7 separate regions of the Homo sapiens genome follow, and all the other regions are linked to region 1. The links are contacts of gene promoters, found by promoter capture Hi-C in blood cells and fetal thymus (Javierre and others, 2016). All regions are on one chromosome and are shown on one strand. Each heading gives the region's core, a stretch centred on a gene start or on the middle of the fragment in contact. The rest is flanking DNA. Distances are from core to core; before and after follow the strand shown.

The links. The method cuts DNA at HindIII sites, captures the fragments that hold promoters and counts their contacts. A CHiCAGO score of 5 or more calls a contact.
Region 2: a contact is called between a fragment that was not itself captured here and the fragment with the promoter of AGTPBP1 in region 1, in 2 of 17 cell types (monocytes and fetal thymus). The highest score is 7.1, in monocytes.
Region 3: a fragment that was not itself captured here is called in contact with the fragment with the promoter of AGTPBP1 in region 1 in 1 of 17 cell types (naive CD4 T cells); the score reaches 6.1 in naive CD4 T cells.
Region 4: a fragment that was not itself captured here is called in contact with the fragment with the promoter of AGTPBP1 in region 1 in 2 of 17 cell types (neutrophils and M0 macrophages); the score reaches 7.5 in neutrophils.
Region 5: a fragment that was not itself captured here is called in contact with the fragment with the promoter of AGTPBP1 in region 1 in 3 of 17 cell types (non-activated CD4 T cells, total B cells and fetal thymus); the score reaches 6.9 in non-activated CD4 T cells.
Region 6: a contact is called between a fragment that was not itself captured here and the fragment with the promoter of AGTPBP1 in region 1, in 11 of 17 cell types (fetal thymus, total B cells, total CD4 T cells and 8 more). The highest score is 14.4, in fetal thymus.
Region 7: a fragment that was not itself captured here is called in contact with the fragment with the promoter of AGTPBP1 in region 1 in 1 of 17 cell types (monocytes); the score reaches 5.1 in monocytes.

Annotation. Positions count from the first base shown.
Region 1 is chr9:85,740,576-85,743,405 of GRCh38, forward strand. It overlaps AGTPBP1 (ATP/GTP binding carboxypeptidase 1), which reads right to left and starts at 1,379. Exons shown (of 26, transcript NM_001330701.2): 1 at 1,200-1,379. RefSeq lists an enhancer at 393-542 and silencers at 713-1,032, 1,103-1,702. The HindIII fragment of the contact is 1,776 bases long and covers 104-1,879 here.
Region 2 is chr9:87,606,132-87,608,961 of GRCh38, forward strand. All of the region lies in intron 3 of DAPK1 (death associated protein kinase 1), which reads left to right. Among named protein-coding and RNA genes, the nearest start is that of DAPK1-IT1, 54 kb to the left of the region's middle. The HindIII fragment of the contact is 4,147 bases long and covers 1-2,830 here.
Region 3 is chr9:83,914,542-83,917,371 of GRCh38, forward strand. KIF27 (kinesin family member 27) reads right to left here. Exons shown (of 18, transcript NM_017576.4): 2 at 753-1,137. The coding sequence starts at 1,050. Among named protein-coding and RNA genes, the nearest start is that of KIF27, 5.5 kb to the right of the region's middle. The HindIII fragment of the contact is 6,796 bases long and covers 1-2,830 here.
Region 4 is chr9:83,932,694-83,935,523 of GRCh38, forward strand. No RefSeq gene overlaps it. Among named protein-coding and RNA genes, the nearest start is that of KIF27, 13 kb to the left of the region's middle. The HindIII fragment of the contact is 7,420 bases long and covers 1-2,830 here.
Region 5 is chr9:83,958,704-83,961,533 of GRCh38, forward strand. No RefSeq gene overlaps it. Among named protein-coding and RNA genes, the nearest start is that of QNG1, 3.4 kb to the left of the region's middle. The HindIII fragment of the contact is 1,002 bases long and covers 998-1,999 here.
Region 6 is chr9:83,976,123-83,978,952 of GRCh38, forward strand. HNRNPK (heterogeneous nuclear ribonucleoprotein K) reads right to left here. Exons shown (of 17, transcript NM_031263.4): 2 at 2,251-2,330; 3 at 2,073-2,157; 4 at 1,567-1,664; 5 at 873-929. The coding sequence starts at 2,130. Among named protein-coding and RNA genes, the nearest start is that of HNRNPK, 2.7 kb to the right of the region's middle. The HindIII fragment of the contact is 3,362 bases long and covers 1-2,830 here.
Region 7 is chr9:87,477,956-87,480,785 of GRCh38, forward strand. No RefSeq gene overlaps it. Among named protein-coding and RNA genes, the nearest start is that of DAPK1, 18 kb to the right of the region's middle. The HindIII fragment of the contact is 2,760 bases long and covers 13-2,772 here.

The DNA.
Region 1 (2,830 bases), core at 129-2,628:
AACATTCCACAATACAATTACAAAAATAACTTTCCGGTTTTCTCAGACAACCAGTTTATAAGAATAATTCAGAAGTTCACAAAGGATAATTTGATTTACATAAAGCTTAAAAAACGGACATAAAAGGTAAGTGAAAATGACCGATTAAGAAGACTGTTAAGGTCCTTTCTAACTACAAATTGTCATGCATTGTAATTAAACACAACTACAATGTTAAACACCTGAAGGAAAAAACCCACATAGAATTAATACTGCCAAAGAAAATTTCCGCTATCTTCAGGCACTTGAGTAAGCTATGTTAAAACGGGAAATGGGCTTTAAATTATCAACATTCACATCGATTACACTATGATGCATGAAAACTCCATTCTACAATGAGTAAACGCCCAAGAAAGGAACCCAACCAACTCCAATTGCCCTGGTGCTCGTAAGAGGTTTATACCGCACAAGGGGTAAAACAACGGTAGAGTCGAGCAAGCCTTTGGGTTACAACAGTCCTTGAACACTTGCAATTGAGAACCCGCAATTCAGGAAGGAAGACACTAAGGAAACTCTGCACTGTCATCCAGGGTGATCTGATTCAGGTTCAAACCAAACGCTCAAGGCGACAAGTTGTAAACAGAAGACACACTTCAGCTCAAACCACCCAGCGAGAGGAAGCAAACGTGCCCATCGCCGATGTCACAGCAAATCCCACCTTGCTGGCGCTCAGTCGGGAACGCTAGAATTCTCGAAGCACAGGGGCCCGCGATTCAGCGGCCCGCTACCACTGGGGCGGGGGAGAGCGGGGCTGGGCGCGCCCGCCCCCGGCCCTGCAGCCCCTCGGCTGGACTCCCCGCGGCGCCGCGAGCTCGGGCCCGAGAGAAAGGGCTGAGCAGAAAGGGCGGCCTCCGCCCAGAGACCGCGCCCGATACCCTCCGCAAGGTCTGGGACGGGGATCCACCGAGGGTCCGGGGACTGGGGAAGGCGTTTTCCAGACCCAGTCAAAGCCCCACCCCGTCAGGGCTTTCCCTCAAGACCGAGTGCGTTCCCCTCACGCGTCACATGTGTAACATGCGTTACACAACCCGTCAGGTAAGGGGCGCAGGGATCCGGGGTCGCCCCTCCTACCCCCGGGCGCCGTCGCTCGCATCTCCCGCGGCCCGGGGAGAGCAGAGGGACGGCCGGCCGGGACATGAGGACTGCAGCAGGGCGCTCACCGGCTCAGGATGGGGCGCTGGCGGGGACCGCGCAGAGCCGCAGCACCCGGCTCAGCACCTGGATCACGGCGGATCCCTCGCCGCCCGCCGCCCGGTGTTTTCATACAAACCCCGGTGGCAGGCGAGGCGGAGGCGGCGGCGGCGGCAGCTGCGGCGGCGGCGCTGGAGGCGGCGGAACCTGTCCGCATCCCGGGCAACGTCAGCGCGGCGCCCCGCCCACCGCACGCCTTGCCAGCCGGCTCCCAGCACGCGCAGGGAGTGGGGGCGGGGCGTGCGAGGCCGCGAAAGGGGCGGGGCGGAGCGCACGCCCTCTTCCCGCCGCGTCCCTTGTTACCTCCGTGCGCGCTGCGCCCCGCCTCTCTGCGCGCCTGACGGGAGGGAGCGCGCGCGTGGGGGCGGAGCGCGCACGGGAGCGGGAATTAGGGGCGGGTGTTCCGCGCGCTGCCGGTCCCTTGTACCCAGCAGCCCCGGCCACCGCCCCTCCGTACCGAACTGCGAGCGACTCCCCACGTTCTTCAAGTCATCTTTCTGTACACTCCCAACGAGGGCCCCAGCCTTTTCCCGGAACTAAGCCCGCGCCCACCCCCTCCCCCGCCATCAATCAGTCACTTTCTTAGGAAGGGTTCTTAAAGCTCCCCACGTGATCCCGGGGTCGCATCAAACGCTGGGGACTGCGGTAAAGCTTAGACCTTTCCTGACCTCAAGGAGGGTCCATAATAAGAGGCTGGAAGGGACATGCTGTTACTACAATCGGGCTCCCAGAAAACAACAGGATTGCACCTTGTGGCCAAATCTCAGTAAATTAGATGCCTAGTGCTGCAGCGAACAAAATAGCATGCTGATTTACTGTTTTTTGAAAAAGTGCCTGCATATAATCAAAACGGTAATGCTAAGTTGGCTACTGAAGGCAAAGGCGGAATGTTTTATCTGAGCCAAAGTAATGTGTCAGAGAAATTACTAATACACCCCCTTCTGTTTTGACTGTACTTCAGTGTACTGCAATGTATTGCAAATAAATACTGACATCATTTACTTTTTCACGTTGCACAAGAACATGTTTGCTACTGTTTATGGTAAGGAATGTAATATCACAACTAGATAAGGGAATGCATTGAGAACTGTGAGATTTTTGTTTTGTTTTATGATCTTGTTCAAATAAAATTAAGCAGGTGTGAAAGCAATTCAAAAAGTAACCCAAGGTACACCACAGTGCTTCTTACAGTTTGCCCTTGGTAGATGTCTTTATTCAGATGAACAAGAAACTGCCATTTTATAAACATCGTAGTTTCCCTCATCGTGAGCACTAAAAGATAGGTTACGGTATTTAAAATAATTTTGAAACAACCACCACCCCAAACCACCCAATCAGAAACGTATTATCTGAAAATACCCAATAATAATGTAATAATTTTACAATAATGCTAAATATGTATGTAATATACCTGAAACTTTTCTTAAAGAACATGTTTCTAAATGAGTCAACCTGCAATATAGGAAGATATTATGTGGATGTGTGTGTTTGTGGAATTTGAATCCCACTTTCACAAGCACTGTTAGCATAGTTTGATGACCACAACACAGACCCAGGAGATTAACCCACACAAGATAAATAGCAGCATTACATAGCTTTG
Region 2 (2,830 bases), core at 180-2,679, 1.9 Mb after region 1:
CTTCTTTGCAGATACCTTAGGGGTAAGAAGAGATTTTCAAGACCAGAGGAGAAGGTTGGCAGAGCTGCCAGGCCAGCTCCCAGGCGCCACCCTGCAGGTACCTCCACTTTGCAATCCCAGGTGCCTGCGGTCCCCACAGCATCTTGTCTCATCACTGGGATTTGGGCACATTTCTTTATGGGTCTCAGCTACAAATTTCTTAACCATAAAATGGGGTTAATAATATCTCAGATGGTTTATGGGGAGATAAATGAGATAAGAATTTTTAAATACCTAACACTGTGCTGGTTGGTAGATGACATTAATATGCTCCCTCCCTCCCTTCCTTCCTCTCTCTCTTTCCCTTCCTTCCTCCCTCTGTCTCTCCCTCCCTCCCTCTCTCCTTCCTTCCTTCCTTCCTTCCCCCCTCCCTCCCTCTCTCCCTCTCTCCCTCCCTCCGTCTCCCCTTCCTTCCTTCCTTCCTTCCTCCCTCCCTCCCTCCCTCTCTCTCTCCCTCCTTTTCTCCCTCCCTCCATCTCTCCTTCCTTCCTTCCTCCCTCTCTCTCCCTGTCCCTCCCTCTCTCCTTCCTTCCTTCCTTCCTCCCTCTCTCTCTCCCTCCCTCCCTCTCTCCTTCCTTCCTTCTTTCCTTCCTTCCTCCCTCCCTCCCTCCCTCCTTTTTCTCCTTCCCTCCCTTCCTCTCTCCTTCCTTCCTCCCTTTCTCCCCCCTTCCAAATCAGCAGTTCTCAATCTTGGCACAAGTGACATTTTGGGCTGAATCACTCTTCCTTCAGGCTGTCCTAAACATTGTAGAATGTTTAGCAGCATCTCTGGCTTCTACCTACTAGATTCCAGTAGCACTCTTCCCCCATGTTGTGACAACTAAAAATATATCCAGACATTGCCACATGTACCCTGGGGGCAAAATCTCCTGCTTCCCCTGTACCCTCCCACCCTCGTAACTGAGAACTCTGGCTTTAAAGGAAGAACAGAGCTTTAAGGGGCCAGGAGATTAAGGACTTGCTTAGGGTACAACAGAGGAAAAAGGACAAATCATGGTGTAATCCTCACTGTGGCTTTATGTGGCTCCTGGGAGACAGCAGCCTAGAGTGAAGATGGGGGCTGGGGAACCAGACAGAACTGGGATCAAAATCCAGGGCAAATCCTTTCTTGTCTTTAAGCCTACATTTCCTGCCTTAAGACAGTGCATACAAAGTGCCTGGAAAAAGAAACATAACAAATCACAACTATTCTGCCTTTTCAGATAATTCCCAGGTTGTGCCCAGTGACTCAAGAATGCCACTTATCCTCATTTCATACTAAAATATTTGAGCGATGCCTATGAGTCACTGCCCCTCTTGTGCCTCTCTGCGTGTACATATTGTGCATTCAACATCTGTTGTCTGACCCCAATTCATAGATAGTTCCCATTAGGTGCATTTACTCTGTGCCTAAATTGGGTGGCATACAATTATTTTTTTTTACCATTTGATTATGTAAAAATTTTATTTATAATACAGCAAATATAGTGTTGGAGGAGGGTTGTGTCATTCTATGAAAGTTAACACATGTAAATCATGTAACCAGCAGTCTAATTGGGACTCAGAACAGTTCCCATACCCCTACATACTCCAGTACCCCTTGTATTAATACTACCCCTTCATGCCTGCCCTCTACTGCCTAACCCCTGGCAAGCCCTGAGCTGGTCTTCATCACTGTTTGTATTAGTCCATTCTCACACTGCTATAAAGGCAGACCTGAGACTGGGTAATTTGTGAAGAAAAGAGATTCAATTGACTCATGGTTCTGCAGGCTGTACAGGAAGCATGGCTGGGGAGGCCTCAGGAAACTTACAATGATGGCAGAAGGTAAAGGGGAAGCAAGAGCCATCCTCACATGACCGGCAGGAGGAAGAGAGAGAGAAGGGGGAAGTGCTACACACTTTGAGACAACCAGATCTCCTGAGAACTCTATCAGGAGATCAGCAAGGGGGAAGTTCACCCCTATGATTCATTCACCTCCCACCAGGCCCCTCTTCCAACATTGGGAATTATAATCCGACATGAGATTTGGATGGAGGCACGGAGCCAAACCATATCACTACTGTTTTGTTGTTTTGAAAATGTCCAGTGAATAGAATCATACAGTATGCAAGTGTTTGAAAGTAGCTTCTTTCACTCAGCATAATGCATTGGAGATTTGTGCATGAAGAGTGAGTCCGTTTTTATTACTGAGTAGTATTTCATTGTATGGATTTTTTATAAACCATTCACCCATTTGGGTTGTTTCTGGTATTTGATAATTAGGAGTAAAACTGCTACAAACATTCCCATACAGACTTGTGTGTGGGCATAGGTTTTTATTTCTCTTCAGTAAATACCTAGAGATCTTGGGATTGCTGGATCGTGTAGTAAATGTATGTTCAACTTTATGAGAAACTGCCAAGCTGTCTTCTAAAGTGAGCATACCGTTTTACAGTCCCTGCAGCAATGGATGAGAATTCCGATTGCTCCACCAGTGGGGCTCTGTACTGTTTTTCAATTGTAGGCTTTCTAATAGTTGCATCTTGGCATACAGCTTTACATTGTTAACTGCATGATGACCCTAAATGAAAGCTGAGCGATCTCACTAGGAACAGCTTTTAGATGGAGTGAGCGGGAGGGCCCTTAGGAGCTGGCCACATCCTTCACAGGGCTAGACAGGTCCCTGGTTATTTGCTCTTCATAAATTCTAGTGTCCCCTAGGAGCTGACTATTTTTGCCTCTTCACCACCCAGGCATCTGAGGGGTTGTGATGGTTACCTTCATGTGTCAACTTGACTGGACCATGAGGATCCCATATATTTGGTCAGAC
Region 3 (2,830 bases), core at 206-2,705, 1.8 Mb before region 1:
AAGCCATATATTTTACATTTGTGAAATATGAAAATAGAAAAATATTGAGAGCCACTATTCATACAGAGAATACTAACTAAAACTTTAGACAATGATGCATATGTGCACTACTCAAAAGTTTGTTTTTAGTGGAAAAATATAAATACAGTAAACAATCTTAACAGAGGACTTGGCTGTCAATTCCCCCACTCTATTACCAGACACTTAACTAAAATGATTTCCAAGGTTCCCTTCAGCTCTATATGAGATCCTATGATTCCATCTTTTCCAAACTACAATTATAAGCAGGAGAAATTATGTCCTAAAATATTCAGAATTTAAAAAAGAAATCTGGCTAGAATATGAAAAAGAAAAGATACTTTACATAATAAATTTTTCCTACGGTCCCTAAGTCCTGATTGCGGGACTCTTAATATTTACAACTGGCTTGTTAAAGAATGCAAAATCTAATCATGTTAACTCATTTATCTCTATTTTAAATTCTGTTCAAAATAACAAGGGCTGACCACTGAAAACTATTTTAAACTTCTTTCCTCAAGCAAATATAATCCTAAGTTAGATTGCTTAATGAAACTTCAATATTTAAAAACGAATCTTTCAAAGATGATGATCTTATGATCACATTTGATTACATGATTCATTCCTTCACTATTCAATCAATATGCTAAACACCTACCATGTGTCAGGTATTGGTCATATTTTTGCTTCTTTCTAGCGTCACAAATAAAAGTCAAAGAGTATAAGAATCTTACCAATATGGCCCCCTCCAATGGTGTATGTCTTCCCAGATCCAGTTTGTCCATAGGCAAAAACAGTTGCATTATAGCCCTCAATGAGTGACAACACTAGGGGCTTTATACATGTGTTATAAACTTCATCTTGAGTGGAATTTTTGCCAAAAACAAAATCAAAAGTGAAGACTCTATCTCTCCCAATGATAACTTGCTGGCTGTTTGGAATAACTCTCACACAAACTTGATGATTATGAAGAGCTTCTTTGCAAAGCAGAGGTCTAATTCTTACAGCAACTTTTACTGGTATTTCTTCCATGGCAACTTAGATTTTACTAAATAGATTTTCTATTTAATGTTCAGTATCTAGTGTGAGAGACTTCCATCTTATGTAAGATCTGGATTCCTGTGCAACAAAAATAAAAAGCAAATTTTAATTACTGATTCCTTGTATCCCAATAAACTAACCACCTTCTAAAGCAAAGTCAATTAGAACAGGTTTTGTTCCAATACAACACAGTTACAAAGAGTAAGCCTGTCTTGTAAAATACATCGTAAATTTGTAGACAAACTAGTATGTCTTGGGTTTGCTTCAAAATAATCTAGGTGTGGGGTCCATGAGTTGATAAATGATGAAGCTAGGTGATAAGTACATGGGATTCCATTGGGCCTTTATTTCTACAGTAATAATGTTTCCCAGTTCATTAATCTAAATATTAAATAACCAGGGAGTTAGAAAATTAAGGCAAGGAGATAAGTAAGGAACTGTACACACGTTTTTTTGTTTTTTGAGATGGAGTCTAGGCTGGAACGCAGTGGTGAGATCTCGGCTCTCTGCAACCTCTGCCTACCAGGTTCAAGTGATTCTCCTGCCTCAGGCCTCTCGAGTAGCTGGGGTTACAGGCGCCCGCCACCACACCCAGCTAATTTTTGTATTTTTAGTAGAGACAGGGTTTCACCATATTGGCCAGGCTGGTCTCAAGCTCCGAACCTCAGGTGACCCGCCCGCCTCGGCCTCCCAAGTGCCAGGATTACAGGCGTGAGCCACCGTGCCCAGCCTGTACATGTGTTAAAAACAAACATTAGTACTAGATTTTATAGCTATGCATTGAAAAATAGCATCTCCTCTTTGCCACAATTATTAGAAATAAATCCATGAAAATAGTTTTAAGAATTTCAATAAGTCAACATAAATTTAAAACTAAATTTGTATTCAAAAATAATCAAAACTAACAGAAAAACTGCTTTTTCTACTTCTAAATATTATGTTGTACTTATTTCTGAAGATCTCTGCTAGAATTAATACATTAAAATTTAAATTGATGGCTGTAGTTTCCTGGCTAAAAATATATATAAACAAATAATTGGTAACTACATTTACAATGAACACTTTTTTTTTTTTTTTTTTTGAGACGGAGTCTCGCTCTGTCGCTCAGGCTGGAGTGCAGTGGCGCGATCTGGGCTCACTGCAAGCTCCACCTCCCGGGTTCACACCATTCTCCTGCCTCAGCCTCCAGAGTAGCTGGGACTACAGGCACCCGCCACTATGCCTGGCTAATTTTTTCTATTTTTAGTAGACATGGGGTTTCACCGTGTTAGCCAGGACGGTCTCGATCTCCTGACCTCGTGATGCGCCTGTCTTGGCCTCCCAAAGGGCTGGGATTACAGGCGTGAGCCACCGCGCACGACAGAACACTCTTTTTTTTTTAAATATATATATTTTATTATACTTTAAGTTCTAGGGTACATGTGCACAACGTGCAGGTTTGTTACATATGTATACATGTGCCATGTTGGTGTGCTGCACCCATTAACTTGTCATTTACATTAGGTATATCTCCTAATGCTATCCCTCCCCCCTTCCCCCACCCCACAACAAGCCCCAATGTGTGATGTTCCCCTTCCTGTGGCAGAACACTCTTAAAAATAAATGTAAAAAACAATTCCATTTACAATAGCATCAAAAAGAATAAAATACTTAGAAATAAATTTAACAAAAGATGTGTAAAACATATAGTCTGAAAACTATAAAATACTGTTAGAAGAAAGCACAAGATGTAAATGAAAAAACATCTCATGTTTATGAATTGAAAGATATA
Region 4 (2,830 bases), core at 133-2,632, 1.8 Mb before region 1:
CATATCTATTATTTCGTTAGGGATTGCACAATGGTAATGTTCTAATATTCCTTTTTGCATTTATTAGCTGGTATTGTTCTATAAAGAAGAGCTTTTCCTCTATCAGATTATCCTGAAATGCAGTTAGTACAGGAATAACAGAATAAATGCTTTTTTCCTTTTTATTTACCAATTTTCAGAATTACAAATTGGTCCCTACCAACCTTCAAAATCAAACAATACGGTTTCTTTTTTTGGAGCACGTGTGTGGTAGAAGGAGGGTAACTATGAACTCATAGTTTTTTTTATATTTTTTTACTTGCTTTCAAAATACTATTTTTGGTTCTCAAAGTATTTCTAGGCTTCTCTCTAAATACCATTGTGACCTATTTGTTTCTTCTCACTTTGACTCAGGCTTCGTCAAAGTTATTGAGCCTTGGCTGGGCACAATGGCTCATGCTTTGGGAGGCTGAGGCAGGAGGATTACTTGAGGTCAGGAGTTCGAGACCAGCCTGGGCAACCTAGTGAGACTCTATCTCTACAAAAAATAAAAATTAGCCAGGCATGGTGGTGCACGCCTGTAATCCCAGCTACTTGGGAGATTGAGGTGGGGGAATTGCTTGAGCCCAGGAGGTTGAGGCTGCAGTGAGCAGTGATCAAACCACTGCACTCCAGCTTAGGTGACAGAGTGAGACGCTGCCTCTAAAAAACAAAGCAACACTTTTTTTTTTTTTGAGATGGAGTCTCGCTTTGTCACCCAGTCTGGAGTGCAGTGGCGCAATCTCGGCTCACTGCAAGCTCTGCCTCCCAGGTTCACGCCATTCTCCTGCCTCAACCTCACAAGTAGCTGGGACTACAGGTGCCCGCCACCACGCCCAGCTAATTTTTTGTATTTTTAGTAGAGACAGGTTTCACCGTGTTAGCCAGGATGGTCTTGATCTCCTGACCTTGTGATCCTCCTGCCTCGGCCTCCCAAAGTGCTGGGATTACAGGCGTGAGCCACCACGCCCGGCCAAAGCAACATGTTTATGTTTTTTTAAAAAAGGAACAAAGCTGTTGAGCCTTAATAATTGCATTCTACTCCTGCAACCAAATACAGGTTAGTATTCTATATCAACTGACTCTTAGTCTATCTTGAGAGTGGCAAAATGGGAATGGCGAAGAAAGGGAGAGAATTCCTAGGTTTGTCCTGTCTCCAGACAGGAAGTTGGATTAGTGCTTTCTTTTCCTTTTCCTTTTTTTTTTTTCTTTTGAGACATAGTCTGGCTCTATTGCGCAGGCTGGAGTGCTGGAGTGCAATGATGCAATCTCAGCTTGCTGCAACCTCTGTCTCCCAGGTTCAAGTGATTCTCCTGATCTCAGCCAAGATCGTACCATTGCACTCCAGCTTGGGCAACAAGAGTGACATTCCATCTCAAAAAAAAAAGAAAGAAAAGAAAAGAAATATGAGGTATGGTCTTTGTGCATTTTAATCCCTAGACTGTAACTAGTTACATGATCATGGCTAAAGCCAGCTCTATCCCTGGGCTTATTTTGTTGATCACTACAATTGCTTTTTCACTATGCTAGTTTTAGTTTGATTTATTTCATTTAAAACTAAAACATCCTTAACCCAAAGGGATAAAAGAAAGGAAAAGATACACAGTGTATGGAAAAAAGAGAAATTTAGATGAATGGCACAATAATATATTTCTCCAAACTTCCAATTGTTTAATCAATAAATTGTATACCTGCAAGGAATTTTACAAATTACAGGCATGCATCACATAACAATGATTTGGTCACCCATGAACTGCATACACCATAGTATATGGTATCCCATGAGATTATCCCATCCCAGTGGGACAAGACCAGACACAGACCCTTCAATTCCTCATTCTTTTTTACAATTTTTTTTTTTTTTTCCGTAGAGACGGGGTCTTGCTATGTTGCCTAGGCTGGTCTTGAACACCTGGGCTCAAGTAATCCTCCTGTGTGGGCCTCTCAAAGTGGTGGGATTACAGATGTGCATCACCATGCTCAGCCCAATTCCTCATTCTTTGTCTCTCTATTAGAACTCTTTGTCCACCTAAAACCAGCATGACACAGAGATAAATATTTCCTGTTTGGCAACTGACTGAGACTTCTGATTGCAAAACAATCCCACATGTAAGTCCTCCACCTGTAACTTGTATACTCCTCTCTATAAAAGTCTAAGGCAAAACCACCCTGCCAAGAGACTCTGATCTTTGGATTTGGAGTGCTTTTCCTATTGTAATAGCCTGAATAGATCAATTCCCTTACTTGTTTAGGTTTTGTATTTGACTATAGCACCCACCAAAAAGCTGGAAATTTTAAACTAAAGCAAAAAACAGCACACCTCGAGAAAGACGGGTCACAGAGTTGCAAGGAAAAGGAAGGTCTAGTTGCCTCAAAGCTGATCCCCTAGGTCATATACAGTCATTAAATCCGCATCTGGGGCAGACTGGGGTGCCAGCCTGACTAAGCCATTATCCATTCAGCTTCAGGGGAGGGGACACTGTGAGGAAGCTCAATACATGATTTCTGAATTGAATGAAACAAAATCTATTAATTTGCCTTGGTGCTAATTAGGGAGAAGTTTAAGGTTGATAAAGGAAAAAAAGCAGCCCCTGATAAAAAGCTGGCCTGGCACCCACAGCTATACCAGTTAGTCTTCTGTTGGACATAATCACTTTCCTAGCCTTCTTGGCAGTTAGTTGTGGTCACGTGACTAAATCCTAGTAAGATGAAACCAAAGTGGAATGTGGTGGCTACCAAAGCCTTTCTTGTCAACCCTTTGTTTTTTTCTTTCTTTCTTTCTTTTTTTTTTTTTTTAGAGACTGGATCAGAA
Region 5 (2,830 bases), core at 249-2,748, 1.8 Mb before region 1:
GACTCACGCCTGTAATCCCAGCTTTTTGGGAGGCCAAGGTGGGTGGATCAGTTGAGTGCATGAGTTCGAGGCCAGCCTGAGCAACATGGGGAAACCCTGTCTCTACCCAAAACACAAAAAATTAGGTGGGTGTGGTGGCATGCGCCAGTGGTCCCAGCTACTAGGGAGGCTGAGGTGGGAGGATCGTCTGAGCCCAGGAGGCAGAGAGATTCCAGTGAGGTGAGATTGTGCCACTGCACTCCAGACTGTGAGAAAAAGTGAGACCCCCCCCCGTTCCCCCTCCCACCCAAAAAGTCAAATTCCTGCCTATGTTCAAGGTATTTAAGCACTAAAAGTAGTATACACAAGAATAAAACATGCCTCCTTCACTCAACTTTGAGATAAATCAAAACTGTGTGTGTCTGGGATTTTTGTTTTTGTTTTTTTAAGTGTGTCTACAAGATGCTGAGAATACAAAAATGAGTTGGGCTGGCCGTGGTGACTCAGGCCTGTAATCCCAGCACTTTAGCAGGCCAAGGATCACTTGAGCCCAGGAATTCGAGACCATCCTGGGCAACATGACAAAACCCTGTCTCTACAAAAAAAAAAAAAGAAAAAGAAAACATTAGCCAGGTGGCTGGAGCCTGTAGTCCCAGCTACTCCCAGAGGCTGAGGTGGGAGGATCCCTTGAGCCTGGGAGGCGGAGGTTGCAGTGAGCTGAAATGGCACCACCGCACTCCAATCTGGGCAACCCACTGTCTCAAAAAAAAAAAAAAAAAAAGTGAGTTCTTCACCTACTGAACATGGTTTTCCTGCTTTTTCCTTCCCAATAGATACTGTGATACTGTTTAGGAATCCATCTCTCAACTGCACTCCCTTGTAGCTTAGTTTAGCATCCTCAGACTCAAGGGTAGTCAGGACTGGTAATATCACCCTCTTGCCAGCAACTGGATTAGGTTTATGCATATTTCCCAGTTCACCTCAGTGAGTTGCAAGATTTGCAGAATGCTTGCAGAAAAGCTTTTCCTCACTCTTCCAGGAGAATTTTCAGAAGTGATTCAGGCTCCCTCTGGACCTGATTGACCTTGAATGTAAGGCCTGGAATTGCTGCAGTCCTTTTGATGGCAACCTGAGTTTGTTTTTTGGTTTTGTTTTGTTTGAGATGGAGTCTCGCTCTGTCGCCCAGGCTAGAGTGCAGTGGCCCGATCTCGGCTCACTGCAAGCTCCGCCTCCCGGGTTCACGCCATTCTCCTGCCTCAGCCCCCCGCCGCCCCCCCGCCCCGGTTCTATCAGCCGCCACCATGCCCGGTTAGCCAGGATGGTCTCGATCTCCTGACCTCATGATCTGCCCACCTCGGCCTCCCAAAGTGCTGGGATTACAGGCATGAGCCACCACACCCGACTTTGGTTTTTTTTTTTTTTTTTGAGACGGAGTCTCGCTCTGTCGCCTAGGCTGGAGTGCAATGGCGCGATCTCCACTCACTGCAACCTCCGCCTCCCGGGTTCAGGCCATTCTCTCCTGCCTCAGCCTCCCGAGTAGCTGGGATTACAGGCTCCCGCCACCATGCCCGGCTAATATTTTGTATTTTTTTAGTAGAGACGGGGGTTTCACGATGTTAGCCAGGATGGTCTCTATCTCCTGATAGAGATAGATAAATCTTTGGCAGAAGCTGTACCCTGTAGGCATAGGCTTTATTTATTTATTTGAAACAGGGTCTTACTCTGTCACACAGACTGGAGTGCAGTGGTGCAGTCATAGCTCACTGCAGCCTTGACCTCCCCAGCTCAAGTGATCCTCCTGAGTAGCTGGGACTACAGGCATGTACCATTGCACCCAGCTAATTTTTAATTTTTTTGTAGAGATGGGGTCTGCTGTGTTGCCCAGGTTGGCTTCGAACTCCTGGGCTCAAGTAATCCGCCTGCCTCGGCCTCACAAAGTGCTGGGATTACAGGCGTGAGCTACTATGCCTTGCAGGGGTAGGCTTTTGAAGAGATAGTGATGACCTCTAAATAACCTCTAAGCTTGCATTTTAAAGGTTAACAAAGGAGGAAGACATGATCAATGATGTGTCCATATAACTTTCCCCCCCTTGAACAGTATCCAAGTTAGATTATTCCAGTCATCAAGAGAGTCATCATTTTTGATTAGCTAAATTACATGTCAAGCTCTTGGGAATGATTATTGCTATATCTTCTATTTTCTATGATAGGCTATAGCATTAAAGAAATGGAGGGTCGGCCAGGTGTGGTGGCTCATGCCTGTAATCCCAGCACTTTGGGAGGCCGAGGCGGGCTGATCATTTGAGCTCAGGGGTTTGAGACCAACCTCAACAACATAGTGAGACCCTGTCTGTACAAAAAACAATAAAAAAAATTATCTAGGTGTGGTGGCATGTGCCTATAGTCTCAGCTTCTTAGGCGCCTGAGGCAAGAGGATCGCTTGAGCCCAAGAGGTCGAGGCTGCAGTGAGCTGTGTTCGTGCCACTGCACTCCAGCCTGGGCAACAGAGGAAGTTGCAAAAGTTGCCTAGAGCAGTGGATGGACAATAGACATCGCTAGTGGGAGGACATAGTTTCCCATATGTGCTCAAAGAGTTATGCATAGAAGTGAAATGGATTTTGTGGAGGTAAGACATCTCTTATTTTTATTTCTTTTTATATACACAAAATGACAGACTGAATCCCCATGAAGCCATAGCAGAAAAGAGATATGGCTCACTACAGTGTAATTTTTCTGTTCCTTTTCTTCTTGATTTATCCATATTTAGCATTTAAGATTGAGCACTTCCTTGAAATTGTCCATTGGCTTGCAGGGCATTTATATTTTCCTGGTTTTCTTAGTGTCATTGAAA
Region 6 (2,830 bases), core at 109-2,608, 1.8 Mb before region 1:
AGGTTTTGAAATGCATTCCTAGATCCTAACAGGCAAGTTTGTAAAATTTTAAACAAATTTTCAAGTTCAGTTTACAGTAATCAAGAGGAACATACAAAGATCTGCGACCAAGAGAGAAATGAAATACTGTCAAATAAGTACTCGACACAAAGTTATTTGCCTCATTTTTAGCAAGAAAAACATTAAGAAATGTGTACACTATGAGAAAAAAAATTTAGAAATTTTGGTGTAGCCAAGTCCTATAAATGTGCTCACTTCTGGCACTGCCAACATTTAATGTGTCTAATCACAAGAGTCAACCCACTGTAAAATGAAGACTCAAACAAATCATAGGCATTGACGAACAGTTTCCCAATTATAAGATTAAGTGCCTACTCTATTCTTTACCCATATTTAAATCATGCAACCTCAACATTAAATTCTTTGTGCTCCATGTGCAAGCTGTTAAAGAACAGATGGACATTTTTCTTCCCAAAGAAAACAAAAAAATTTTTCTGGATTTAACCAGCCACCTGCAATGGTTTTCAGTAATACTGTAATTGATTCACACACAGGAAATGGTGCAATCAAGGATTTTTACACTTTGTCGCTATTTCTAATTAAGATGTTATCTTGCTTGATGAAGTGAATAATTTGGTGGACTCTTATTAAAATGTGAAGAGGTTTGAAAGAAACCACCCCCCCACCCTGCTCAATCTGGGCTTTTGTTAAAACAGGAATGGATAACTTCGAAATCAATTCTGTAATAATAAATTATTACAAATGTCTTTGTAGCTAAACTATGAAATGATTTCTAGGATGTAAATCTTTAAATTTCTATAGACATATAAACTGAAGCTGCTCGTGTAGTAGTTTAAACTCTTAATACTTACGTCTGTACGGAGAGCCTTAATATTCTTGCCTCCTTTTCCAATCACTGCCCCAGCATTCTGGAGAAGATACAAAGACAAAAAATTATTTTGCCTTTCCCTAAAATTAATAGCTACCTACGCTCTTAGATTTTGCTAAAAAATCCTCTAACCTGTTTGTTATAAGAATAAAAATCTATTTGGGGTTGTAAAAACGACCAGGCCAAAACCAAACCAAAAATCAAAATATAATTCTAAGTGCTGTGAGGACTAGATAGTTTGGAGTACTCAATGTCAGAAATAACACCAAGTATAAAATAAAACTAAGCACAGATTTTATAGCACCCTTTGGTAAAATAAGTCAATTAATTTAGTATTAGTAGGTACCTTCATATTGTGACCTGTGATCAAACAATAAACTGCCAACCAAGCAGTTTCCTAAGGAGTCCACACATAATTAAGATTTAATCTATTAACACTTTAAGAATCACACTCTCCTCCTAGTTTGACCTGTAGTGGCGGTTCACTACAGCAAGGGCTTTAATCTTAACTGTTAGTGGAATAAGAAAACCACCAGAGCCTTCAAGTCTGTTTAGAAAGAACCAAATGTTTTATATTCTTCAATCTGTAAAACTTTGACTTTCTAGAAAGCCAAACCAGACCTTAATTTCTACCTGAGTATGAACCACCTTCAAATTTTCAAGAATAAAATTTATACCTTGCTCTGAAGCAGAATGCGTAATTCAACCATCTCATCAGTGTTTCTAGATCTTTTAAATGCTTGTTCCTCTTCCATATCTTCTGCAGGGCGTTTACCTAAAAATTAACAGTTCACATTTCAAAGAAAGCAGCGAAGTCTCCAAAGTAACTCCATTCTGTTTCAAGAGACTTGTTGCTAATCTTAGGCATGTTTTGAAAAGACCAAAGGCATTGCTACAGACTTGAACGTTATGCTTCCATCTAGTAAAATGCACCAAACACAAAATACTGCCACAAAATACTTCAAAGGATTTGAAATCCCAAAATGCAAGAAAAATTCTTTATATGCAAATCAGTTACTTCTACTTCATAAATAAAAGCTAAGATGTAACTACTGATAATCGCAGAATTACATAAACAGTAATACCAAAAATTCACCACACACTCCTAAGGCAATAATTAACAGAAAAAGGCAATTTATTAACAGGATAAAAAAATACTGTTAAAACTAAAATTTCTTCTCACCAAATTCACCATTGGTTTCAGTGTTAGGGAAGGTTTCTTCTGGCTGTTCAGTTTCCATATTCTTTTATTAAACGGGCACACCAATCTGTGGAAAAATAAAGCAGCTAGTACATTTGGCTTATTGGAAAGCAAGCTGTAAAAAAAAAAAAAAAAAAAAGACATTGCTTCTAGAACGTACCAGTTATTATATATCCTTGCAGAGCAGAACTGAAGCGTTCTGGGTCGGACCAACAACTGACACCCCAGTGCTGCAGTAGCCTATAAGAACCAACACAAATCAGTTTTGCTTTTGTTTATTCTTATTACTGAATATTTGTTTCCGATCACAGTGAATACTGATTTGAACCCAAAAAACCAGCTGTTTCTAAAACTTGATTCTTCATTTTAGGGTTTCACAATTCAAATGACTGCCTAAAAAATACAAAATTCAAGGGAGCCTGGTTTCATTTTTTGCTAAGTTAGAACAATAACTTTTAGCCACTGGATTAAGTCCCACCACAGCAATGAATTGTTTTATACGGCACATTCCCAAAACCCTGAAAAGATAAATGTCATCCACAAAGCATACATTTATGAAAAGTTACAATGCATCTTATTCACTGGGAAAACTAATTTTATATTAAAACTTCCAATTGCTTTCCTATTTCTTTCGACTCATGCTTGAAGCGATCTTATGTGACATCTCTAAAGTTTACAAATACAACGGCAATTGCGAACACATCCAACAACCAGAACAATCTACCGGAGGGATAAATCCA
Region 7 (2,830 bases), core at 143-2,642, 1.7 Mb after region 1:
ATGCAGGGGGAAAGCTTCCTTCAGCTTGTACATAAAACCTCAGTACGCTTATCTTCTTCTACATATTTAAAGTAATAGAACTCGGTCTAATTTCAAGAATTACTTGAAAAGTGGGTGGCCAACCAGGTGGGCAATCCAGGTAGGAATCCAGGTGGCTCTGAAGATGTGAACACAGGTAAGCAGAGGTTGTCATTTCAGAAGATCTGGAGGTCAAGGTCTGGGGGAGACTGGTGTGCAAGAGGTTAATTAGTGAGTGCCCTTGGGATTAATACTTGAGGAAGGGAAGGACAGGAGATAGGATTGGCAGAGGGCAAAGTGGAGCAGCCATGATGAAGGCTACAGACAACCCCTCCAGGAGCTTTAGAGCTGCGATAACCCATTCAGAGTTGTGTCAAATTCAGGAGACCACCTCCAGTGGATGCAGCCTGCTCCAGCTAGGGGACCTGGCCTTGGGCCAGAAGGCTCTCTTCAGCTGGGGCAAGTCCCACAGTGGGCTGACAGCTAAGGGTGTTGTCCCAAGAGCACTTCCCACAGCTAGCTGAGGAAGTGAAGCCTGCAATCCCTGAAGGGGACCTGGGTTAGGGGCCACACCACAGCACCATCCCAGGAAAATAAACATCTCCCTCTCCTGGGAGCAGGGCTTTGAAAAACTAGGCAAGAGTATCAGAGCTGCCATCCCAAGATAGGGCTCAGGGCAAGACCCCCATTTCAGGGGCAATGGGGAGAACAGGGCCTGGAAGATGAATCTTTGCTTCACAACAGAATGCAAATAAGACTGAAGGCGAGGCTGTCAAAGGGCCAGCCCACACAGAGCAGGAGCCAACCTGGGGGCTTTGGGTGCTAGAGGGGTCGCGTGTGGCCCGTGCTCTGCTGCACCCTCTCCTAGGTCAGTTTGATAACCAGGAAGCTCAGGGAAGCCCCTGGAAGCCCAGCAGGACCGCCCGGGTCACAGACTCACAGTTCAGGGAGTGCAGCCCAGCCTGGTGCTGGAGTGGGGGTGTGAGAGAGGAGGTGAAGGGGGAGTATCCTAGTTTTACCAGCTTTAAGGAGATGGAGAAGACAGGAGACGGCAGGAGTAAAGGTAAGTAATTAGCTGCAGTTTGCAAATGCGGGATACCTTACATTTTACAAAAGCCTTTGCATAGATATGATTCTATTTTGTTAGTTCTGCCCCTAGAATGTTTATATATAAAAATGTTATCTGTAGATGAATATGATAGATTCTTTTTTCTTTTTTAATTTTTTTGAGATGGAGTCTCGCTTTTTGCCCAGGCTGGAGTGCAGTGGCATGATCTTGGCTCACTGCAACCTCCGCCTCCTGGGTTCAAGTGATTCTCCTGCCTCAGCCTCCCGAGTAGCTGGGATTACAGGGGTGTACCACCATGCTCAGCTAGGTTTTGTATTTTTTTTTTTTTTTTTTTGAGATAGAGTCTCGCTCTGTTGCCCAGGCTGGCATGCAGTGGCAGGATCTCGGCTCACTGCAAGCTCTGCCTCCCGGGTTCACGCCATTCTCCTGCCTCAGCCTCCCGAGTAGCTGGGACTACAGGTGCCCGCCACCACGCCTGGCTAATTTTTTGTATTTTTAGTAGAGACGGGGTTTCACCGTGTTAGCCAGGATGGTCTCGATCTCCTGACCTCATGATCCACCCGCTTCGGCCTCCCAAAGTGCTGGGATTACAGGCGTGAGCCACTGCGCCCAGCCGGTTTTGTATTTTTAGTGGAGACGGGGTTTCACCCTATTGGCCAGGCTGGTCTCAAACTCCTGACCTCAAGTAATCCACCCACCTCGGCCTCCTAAAGTCCTGGGATTATAGGCATGAGCCACCGCTCCGGGCTGAGATTCTTACAGCATAGCTGATATCAGAGTGCATCTCTCTCTCTCCCCTCTCCCCCAGGACTCTGGAGCCATGAGTAACACCAGGCAGGAGAGCACCCAGGAGTGTGTGGTTTCTGTGGTGGCTGGGCCACTGCAAGTTTCCTTGGCCACGTGACCATTCTTAGCCCAGGAAGACGACTCCAGTAGTACTTTCTTCACTTCCCCTTTCACTTCTCTTGTTCACCAATGTTAAGGGACCACCAGTTTTTAGAGATTCACCCACATTGTGAAGGTGGTGAGGTCATGTTGCCACTTTGACAATGACATGGCATTTAATTTTTAACCAAACCAAATACAGCATTCTGTCACTCGGGACAACCTTTGGAGACAGCTCCAAGGAAGTCTCCCCTCATGTTCTGCCTGCCGGATTAAACAGGAGTCTTGTTGAAGAAAACATGAAACAGGGAAAGTTAAGACCTCAGCAGTCATAACTGTTAATAAAACATGAGACTGCAAGAGGTGATGTTAGAAAAGAAACTTAATGTCCGCCTAGGTAATCATATCTTCTTATCGTGGGACCAAAGCATAAATGTAACTCATATATGTTTGTCCATTAAAATTAAGTGGTGGATCACATCCCCATCCCTGTAAATACTGGTTTGGACACCTCCAGGGGAAGGCAGGACAATGGGAAATTATATACATAAAGGCAAAGGGACCAATTGAAAACTTCCATTGCTAGATCCTCACATGACCTCTTTGAGGTCACATCCTATTTATAATAGGCAAAGCATAACCCTTCAGTGCCAATTAACAAATGCTTTATTAGGGTATTTGCGTGTTTATAACCATTGAATAATGTCCTTGCAAAGCGGCATCTTGCTGTCTATTTTCAGGTACTTAATTAATGGCCTTGCTCCAGGATAAACACATCCTGTGTTAAATAAGACGATGAAAGCTTATAAAAAAAATGCATCATGCTCTTTTTTTTTTTTTTTTTTTTTTTTTGAGATG